2 separate regions of the Homo sapiens genome follow, and region 1 is linked to region 2. Evidence: promoter capture Hi-C in human tissues and cell types (Jung and others, 2019). All regions are on one chromosome and are shown on one strand. Each heading gives the region's core, a stretch centred on a gene start or on the middle of the fragment in contact. The rest is flanking DNA. Distances are from core to core; before and after follow the strand shown. Region 1 has its middle 160 kb from the start of CYLC2. Region 2 holds the start of GRIN3A (glutamate ionotropic receptor NMDA type subunit 3A).

Region 1 (4,852 bases), core at 313-2,812, 1.1 Mb after region 2:
CAGAGGTTTAAACATGAGCCAGCTGAAATTAATTTCCCAATCTGTATATACAAATTATACTAGGGTATGTTAAAAATTTGATTGTGTGGGTCGATTTTCTGAAGTACATGGTGGGATTTTTTTTAATTTAACTTTTATTTTAAATTCAGAGGTAAATGAGCAGGTTTGCTATGTAGATAAATTTGTATCATGGGGATTTGTTGTACAGATTTTTTTTTAATCACCCAGGTATTAAGCTTAGTACTCACTAGTTATTTTTCCTGATCCTCTCCCTCCTCCTAACCTCACCATCCAATAGGCCCCTGTACGTGTTGTTTCTCTCTATGTGTCCGTGTGTTTTCATCATTTATCTCCCACTTATAAGTGAAAATCTGTGGTATTTGGTTTTCTGTTCGTGCTTTAGTTTGCTAAGGTTACTTGCCTCCAGCTCCATCCAGTTTCCTGCAAAGGACATGATCTTGTATTTTTTTTTTTTTTAACTTTAAGTTCTGGGATACATGTGCTGAACGTGCAGGTTTGTTACATAGGTATACATGTGCCATGGTTGTTTGTTGCACCTAAACCCGTCATATAGGTTTTAAGCTATACCATGTGCTAATGTCATTCCTTTTTTTTTTTTACTTTAGCTAGACAATGGGGTTATTAAATTATATTTTATAATTTAAACTATTATATATTTTGTAATTTTTTCATAAATGATTTAAACTAATAATATATATTTTGAATAGTTACTGGAAATAGAAAATAGCCCATAAATCACCACAATTTTTTTCTTTCTTCAGACTTCTTTCCTCTTCCCTTTTATTCTTCCTCATTTATGTGTTTTTTCTCACATTTTTCTCTCTTCTTTTTACACATTTCGTTTTCTCCACTTGTCTTCTCTCCCTCTCATACTTCTTCACATTGAAATGTTGATCTTTTCTTTTATCACCTTTCTTATTCTCTTTTTGGTCCCATTTTTTCCACTTCATCTATTCTGCGATGATTTTTTTTCTTTGGTTTGTTTCCCAAGGACTTCTTGTTATTTTACTTATTATTTTGTAATCAAATATTTTTCCTCCAACGTTTATGTTCGGGGATGCACGTATCAACTTGTTACATGGGCAAACTCTGTGTTGCTGGGGTTGGTGTCCAAATGATTTCATTACCCAGGTAGTCAGCATAGTACCCAAGAGGTAGTTTTTCGATCCTCAATCTCTTCCCACTCCCCACCCTGAAATAAGCCCTGGTGTCTATCCTTCTCTGTGTGTACACATGTACTCAATTTTTAACCCTCACTGATGAGAACATGTGATACTTGGTCTTCTGTTCCTGAGTTAATTTCTTTAGGATGTCTCTAGCATCTTTCTACCATAAAACACATGAATGCACATGCATATTGCAGACTTTTCACTCTCGCAAAAACATGGAATTAAGATGCCTATCAGTGGTGAACTAGATAAAAATATGGCATACATATAAACCACGGAATACTATGCAAGCATAAAAAGAATGGAATTATGTTTTTGGCAGCAACGTAGGTACAACTGAAGGCTATTCTTCTGCTAGTATTTGCCTATGTTTCCATCTTCCTAGACTTCTCTTCTTCCTTTCTTTCTCATCTCTTTGCCCCCTTCTTCTGCACATCCTACACTCTTTTTCATCCCATGTCTTCATAGTAGTCCTGACATGGAAGAGAAATAAATTCCTAGTTCTTCCCAAAGAACTTGGCAAATCATATTCCAATTTCAATTTCCATAAGTCTAATTGAGGGCTTTTTGCATTATGCAGAGATTCATACTAACCTGTGTAAAACATTCCCCACTTCACTAGCATTTCAATTTGAACACTATCTTAGATCCATTAAGTTCATAGTAATTTTGAACACAAATTCACCATATATATTTTCAGTTTGTTTGTCTTCTGTTCTTGTTACTTGCTGAGTAATTTTAATTTTTATAAACCTAAAATATTTGGCCCAATTAAAATATTCAAAGGTTATAACCATCAGAAAAATTCACTAATAAATATAAATTTGTTTACATAAAAAATGATAAGCTTATTAGTGGCATTTTAACAGACCATAAAATAAAAAAAAGCACTTATTCTCATATACTTCCAAGAAAGAAAGAATTATCAAACTCTACTTAGCAGAGATGATCAGAAAATAAGTTATTTTGCCTCAGGCTTCCCTGGGAAAGACCTACTTTATTAGAATTAAAATAAGCCACTTATTTTAATTCTAAATTCATGAAAACACACACTACCTCTAAGCATGTCTGTTGGTAAGTTTAACGTATTTGTCTAAATTCAATTTTTATTCTTCCAGCTTACAGATAATGAAGACAAATAGGTTTCATATGTCAAACTCTGTCACTGCTTGGAGAAGACTTTTAAAAATCCATCACCTATTGCCTAGGTTATTTATTTAAAATGTACAGAAACTTCTTTAGTCCATTAATAATATGGGAAAGACAAGATGTCTTTGGATTTTAATATAAGCAAATTTGTCACCCTTTCACGTTTACATGTGCTTTCTGAATTAATTAAATTTGAAACTCTTACTCCAAGATTATAGCCTAGATGTTTTCTAAATACTCATTTTGAAAAGAAAAGTGATAAATATTTTGCATTACTTTTAACCCTAGACATTATAGAGATACTCAGTTTACATAGTCAATTTATTTTTCTTACTAACTTGTTCTACAGTCTTAATATTTGTTTTTATTTTCAAACTTATGAGGATACTTAAAAATGTATTTCCAGGCCAGGTATGGTGGCTCATGCCTGTAATCACAGCAATTTGAGAGGCCAAGGGAGGTGGATCACTTCAACTCAGGAATTCGAGACCAGCCTGGGCAATATGGTAAAACCCTATCTCTACAAAAAATAAACAAAATTAGCCAGGCATGGTGCCACATACCTGTAATAACAGTTACTTGGGAAGCTGAGGCATGAGAATTGCTTGAACCTGGGAGACAGAGGTTGGAGTGAGCCAAGATCATGCCACTGCACTCCAGCCTGGGCAACAGAGCAAGACTCTGTCTCAAAAAATATGACATACATATAAACCATAAAAATGAATAAAATTATGTGGGTTTTTTTTTTGCAGAAACATAGGTACAACTAAAGGCAATTCTTCTGCTACTACTATACACACACACACGCATTTCCAAAAGTCTTAGTGCTGTTTTAAGCTTTACACATACACACACACACGTATATTTCCAAAAGTCTTAGTGCTGTTTTAAGCTTTACGTAGTTTATTAATTCTCTTACTAGTATCTCATGAATATTCTTGTGACTATCTACAAAGCATCCAAGAATAACTTTGGTCAGCCCCCAAGTCGAACTAAGCTATGGCTCTTCAACAAGGCTGCCTCATCTCATTTATTTTTGTCTCTGTTATTTGCTACTTTTCTAATCAGTTCACCTTGACCTACATTAATAGCTTCAATTATAAACCAATTCTGGGATAGTTATGTGTTGGATTATGTCTCCCCAACCCCACCACCAATTTATATGTCAAAGTCATAATACCCATCACCTCAGAAAGTAACCGTAATTGGAGATAGGCTCTTTAAAGAAGTAAGTATATTAGTCATGGTTCTCTAGAGGGACAGAGCTAATAGGATACACACACACACACACACACACACACACACACACACACATATATATGTATGTTATGTTATATATGTATATATATGTTATATATGTGTGTATATATAAAACACACATATATATATAAATAAGGGAGAGTTTATTAAGTATTAATTCACATGATCACAAGTTCCACAATAGGCCGTCTGCAAGCTGAGGAGCAAGGAGAGACAGTCCCAGCCCCAAAACTGAAGAGCTTGGAGTTTGATGTTCGAGGGCAGGAAGCATCCAGCACGGGAGAAAGATGTAGGCTGGGAGATTAGACCAAACTAGGCTTTTTACGTTTTTCTCCTTGCTATATATTCTAGCCATACTGACAGCTGATTAGATGGTGCTCACCCTGATTAAGGGTGGGTCTGTCTTTCCCAGCCCACTGACTCAAATGTTAATCTTTTTTGGCAACATTCTCACAGACACATCCAAGATCAATACTTCAATCAAGTTGACACTCAGTATTAGCCATCAGAATAAGTGAAAATGAGGTCAGAATGGTGGGGCTCTAATCCAATAGGTCTAGAGTCCTTTTAACAAGAGGAAGAGTGTGTGCACACTGAGAAAAGGCAATGTGAGAACACAGTGAGACAGGAACCCTCTGCTAACCAAGGAGAAAGCCCTCTCCAGAAACCAACTCACCAGTACCTTGATCTTGGACTACTGACCTCTGAAACCATGAGAAAATACATTTCTGTTCTTTTAACCACTAGTCTGTGGTATTTTGTTGTAACAGCCTTAGCAAACTAGTATACTACTGACCAAACCTTCCTTACTTTGAAGTAGAAATTATGTAATAGCTTTCATGTTTGCTCCTTATTTTTTTTTGCAAACGCTCTTTGCCTATGCTGCGGATTCTATCATGAATAGCGTATCCAAGAATTTTTGCTTACTATCTTAAATGCTTTATGAGTCATAGTTGTTGACTTAAGCCATGAGTTCAAATAATGGGGCACTTCTCTGGCTCCATTTGTAAGTTATGATCAATTGCAAACTTCCTTTGTAATTCACTGGTTCAATTCCACTAAAATCTATGTGCTAAGCTTTATGCTAAGTACAGTAGCTCCCCTTATTTGTGAGGGACCTGTTCCAAGACCACCAATAGATGCCCAAAGCCAAAGATAGTACCAGACTCTACACATACTATGTTTTTCCTATAAATACATACTTATGATTAAGTATAATTTATAAATTAGGCAGAGTAAGACATTAACAACAA
Region 2 (4,591 bases), core at 1,874-4,373:
CTAACTAAGGAACACGAATTTTGGTGAAAAATTCTTGCTACTTAAGACTCTTGCCAAACAATCTACAAATGAAAAGGAGTCTGGAGACTGTGACCACTATTGGCCACTTACGAAGTATTAGGTAATAAAGAAGCAATGATAAGAAGCAAGTGATGCTGACTCCTGCATTTTGTTAGATCTGATTCTGCATGTATATTAATAATGATGCACCCTATGGATGCAATTTCATGTTTATAACACTTTGGTCATTGGCAGCATTGTGTATCTGTGTTTTCCATGCCTTCCCATCTGCTGCCTACACCATTCAGATTCAGGTGACAGAAATATTTTATATAAAAGTTAATTAGCCTGCACTCTACAGATCAAATCTCTGTAGTTCGGCTAGGAATCTTCTGGGCAACTGCTGAATATGGCTTGTACTCAACCTTCCTAAGATTAAAAATGTAAGATTTATTTTCTTCTAGAAAAAGAAATCTTTAGTACTCCCTTGACAATTTATGCATAGATTCTATCAAACTTTTCATTGTACATTGCCCTTACTCATTTTAGTTTTTATCTCGGCACATATATCAGAAGTGGAAGAAGATTGGAAATACAAATTTTTCCAGCTGCAAGAGTTGAGTGAAAATGATGTAGAGTCAGAAATCCTCCAGAATGTGGACTTTTTTACTAGTACACTGACCAATGTTGATCAAGTCCCCAGACTTTTCTCAGTTTCTCAGTCGTTAAAATGGGCCCATGCCAATTACCTATTTGCTTCATAGATACTTTGTGCAAGGCTTAACACAGCTTGAGATTATGATAAAAGTAACATATAAAAGGCAGAAAACTCATTACTAAATAAGGACTCTGTCTTGTTCTTAAAGATTCATCTCCTCATTATTACTTGTCAACGTTAAGTTCACAAATAGCTCTTTCATTGAAAATATGTTTAGCTTTTTTAATCAATAAGAAACTAAATCATTTAATTCCTTTTTTTTTTTAATTCTTAGATGATGGGGAGAGAAATGGGCTGAACACAGCAACTGAATACCAGCCTCTGAGTCCACATTACATAGAAGGAAAGTAGGGACAAAGAAACAATCCCCAAATAAATCTCCCCGTCCATCTTTACACTTTTATATATTTCTAATGCTTTCCAATATCCGAGACTAATTGACCACTCTTCTCTACCTATGGCTTCTGTACTAGGTGCAGATTTTCTATTTACCCAGAGGAATTCAGAGCGATGTGCTTTCTTCCTTACACCTTTGCCTAAGGCTCAGGCACACCTTCTGAAGAAGTCAGAGAGAGCAGATGCTGCTTTTCCGACACATGCTGTCAGAGTTGCTCTTGGGAGTGTGACACCTAGCCAGGAGTCAGGGATACCCCACCCCCATACCCTGCTCTTGTAGTTCTTCAGAACCTTCACCGCTCTCCACGGTCCTGAACCTCGACTTCTACTTCCCGTCGGGCATCTACTAGATTTCTCCCAGCCGGTCAAAATATGATTTTCTCTCATATTCTCCCCACTTCTTTCCTTCCAGCCGCGACCTCACTGCGCGTTTTATTTCCATCCGCGCTTTAAATATTTTATTCTACTTCTACTAAGCTCCTTCTACCTACCACCTACGAACATGGCCCAATCGTTAAGCAATATCAAAGTTATAAAGTAACAACTCCCCTCAGACTTTACCAAGCCGTTTTCTCTCCCCTCATGCAATGGCCCCGGCCCCCAGCAGCGCCCATCTCCACTCCACGCACCAGGCTCCTCTCACCTGACTCTCCCGTGGAAACTCGTGGCGCACGATGCTGATCACTGGAATGTGCAGGACTAAGCTGACCAAGTCGAGCTCCATCATTTCGCCCTGGCTCTGGGGGAAGGCGAGCAGCGCCGACACCCCTTGCACCACCACGGTATGGCACACACTTTGCAGGAAGGAGAAAGGGTCACTGCTCCATGGCGAACTAGGGGAGGAGAAGGGCAAAAGTGGCAGATCGCCCAGGCCTGCCTCGATGGCCATCACTACTTCCAAAGACAGGTTGTAGGGTAGCAGCCCTTCCACGCGGTTCAGGTTGTCCACGGCAAATAGGAGGGCGTCCCGTGGCCACAGGGCCTCCGCCCTGGCGCCCTCCCCGGGCTTACGGGAGCCCGGCGGCCCCCGGCCATGCAGGGTGCTCCCCAACCAGCGTGCGCCCGGCGAGGGCGCCGGGGACCGCCTAGTCCCTGGCTCCGGCTCATCCCTCTGGGCTCCTGCTCGGCTGTCGTCCGGAGCGCGGCTGGCCGCGCGGGGGGCGGTGGTCCAGGGCTGCAAGTGCACCGCGCCCACCCTCACCGCGTGCCCGATGCGCTTGAGGATCTGGCAGGGCTGCGGGTGCGAGGAGGAGCTGGGCACCCCGGCCAGCACCAGTGCGCAGGGCGGCGGCAACAGCAGACAGACCCTGCTCAGCAGCCACCACAAACTCAGTCTCCTCATTACTGAGACCCGCAGGGAGAAAGCGCGCCCCCTCCTGCGCCCGGCTCGCCCCTCTGCAGCCGCTGCCTGAGGTCTCCGCCTCCAGGTCCCGCGCGCAGCTTCACTCCACTCGGTGAAGCGGTCCCAGGAGCTGGAGCGGTCTCTAGGCCATGCAAGTTGGAGCGTAGCGCGCCTCCGGCAGTCTCAGATCCCGCTCCCAGGTCCCTCCGCCTGGCATCCTCTGCCCGCCCGGTCACTGCGCTGAGCAGGCAGGCGGGCGGGCCGGCGCCTGTCACCCGCAGCTGGAGCGCCCGTTCCCTGCCCGCCCCATCTGCAGGGCGCCTCGGGCACTGCGTCCGGCCCCGCGAGGCGGCCGGGATGAGAAGCAGCCGGAGTTCCTCGGGGGCAGCAGTGACAGAGGAGCGACGCGCTCTCGCCTGGATTCTTTTCCTTTTCTGCCCAGGCGAGACCCACTTATTTCCTGGGGTCGCGTTGGAGAGGGCTTTCACGCCCGGGGTGCGGAAAAGAAGCCAAATCCACCTTCCTCCACTGTTGGCCACCCTCCTGCAGGCTCCCCCAGCGCCGACTTCATTTTCTCTCTTCTCTCGCTACTTCCTCTCTGCCTTTCTTTCGTTATTTTTCCACCGAGTCGCCACCGCCGCTTGCTTCCTCGGAGGAGCAACGCGACTGGCCAGCAAAGGGTGGCTCTGCTCCGAGCGCCAAAGTTCTCCCCGCCTCAGCCGGCGCCTCCCTGTTGCTGAGCCCTGGCGCCTGCCTGTCGCTTGGCTGCGCTAAACGCCCACTGTTGGTGAGATTCCCGAGTGGCACATCCCGCGCCCCTGGAAAGTCCTCTCCCCTCAAAGGCTGGGCGTCATAGTTTGCAAAATTCCCTAAAACCTAAGAAGGAAAATAGGACTATGAGCCGGTGAGAATTCTGAATTCAGAGTCGCACCTGAGGGATCTGAAATTCGGTGGTTCACTGAAATAGGTTCAAAGAGGCTGTGACTTAACGAGCTTCTGGATGTGTCGCTTTTAAGGTTTTTCTAGCTAAGGGTATTAAAGTAAGAATTATTTACACATTTTTATCTCCTCAGCTTCTTTCTTTCTGGCATGTGAGCCTTTGCATTTTTTTTTTAAAGAATCCCTGTTTTTAGGTTCTCAGAATTAAAACAAAGTGAATTCAAAGCAATTTTTTCAGTTCAAGAAATTAAAGAGTTTCAAAATACTTTTAGAGTTTAAAATGCAGTCAACAGCAGTTCCCAGTTTAGATCAAGAGTCCCCAGATCACAGTTTGTACTAAGTTATTTCATTTGTATGGTAATACAGTGAAGTCAACGTGTTGTGATCTAATCTTTTCCTCCATGATTTGAATAATCTGAAACTAGAAGGTAAGGAAAGAGTTAAGGGCAGGCCTGTGGTTTGCACATATACAGTAGATTAATTTTATTTTATCCCACAGTATCGTTTAGAAGGAGGGTAGGAGAGATCCATGGGGTGGAGCAAGCACTGGGGATCAGCCTTTCTGAGTCTAATACTACTTCATGACCATGACCTTGGCAACTTATTTCACCCGACCTTGCCCTGCTGTTTGGATCTGCTAAATTGTTATGCAAATACAGCTGGCTTTTAGCTCTGGAGGGTTGTTTTGATTCATGAGCTAAAGTTTCCATCATGTTTTAAATCCTGGGAAGAAGAGACTCTAGTTAAGTAAAAATCCCAAGAAGCTTGCAAAGTGAATGCTGTTTTCCCCAGCCCAGATCTTTAAAGGTATCTCAGAACAAATTTACCAGACATTCGGCATCGTTTTTGCAAGACTGGGTTGCTAGAGAAGAAAAGTCTCCCATGAGAAAAAAAGTGAAAATCATAGTAGTGGGCTGAATGAGGAGGGAAAGAAACCCTCCTGAAGCCTGAGAGAACATCCCATGAATGGAGAAAAGCTGCCTCTAGTGTGCTGGAAATTCCCCCTTGATCCACAGGATTCCACTGATTGAGATCTGAATAATAAAAGTGTAGAAGTCTGAGGTCCTTGCATTGCAGGAAGATTGGGTATCTACTAATTGTGTAGTAAGGAGGTATATTTGTCTGTACTCGAGTGTGTGTTTTGAAGAATATAATGTATAACTTTCTAGGTTATGACCATGCTTAGTCCTTGTACT

Evidence for each region. The method cuts DNA at HindIII sites, captures the fragments that hold promoters and counts their contacts. A contact is called where the count stands out against the background at its distance.
Region 1: a contact is called between a fragment that was not itself captured here and the fragment with the promoter of GRIN3A in region 2, in 1 of the 25 tissues and cell types used here (dorsolateral prefrontal cortex).

The regions. Positions count from the first base shown.
Region 1 is chr9:102,836,056-102,840,907 of GRCh38, forward strand. No RefSeq gene overlaps it. Among named protein-coding and RNA genes, the nearest start is that of CYLC2, 160 kb to the right of the region's middle. The HindIII fragment of the contact is 3,282 bases long and covers 1-3,203 here.
Region 2 is chr9:101,735,524-101,740,114 of GRCh38, forward strand. It overlaps GRIN3A (glutamate ionotropic receptor NMDA type subunit 3A), which reads right to left and starts at 3,124. Exons shown (of 9, transcript NM_133445.3): 1 at 1,758-3,124. The coding sequence starts at 2,456. RefSeq lists a silencer at 1,244-1,538 and enhancers at 2,433-2,957, 2,958-3,481. The HindIII fragment of the contact is 8,904 bases long and covers 1-4,591 here.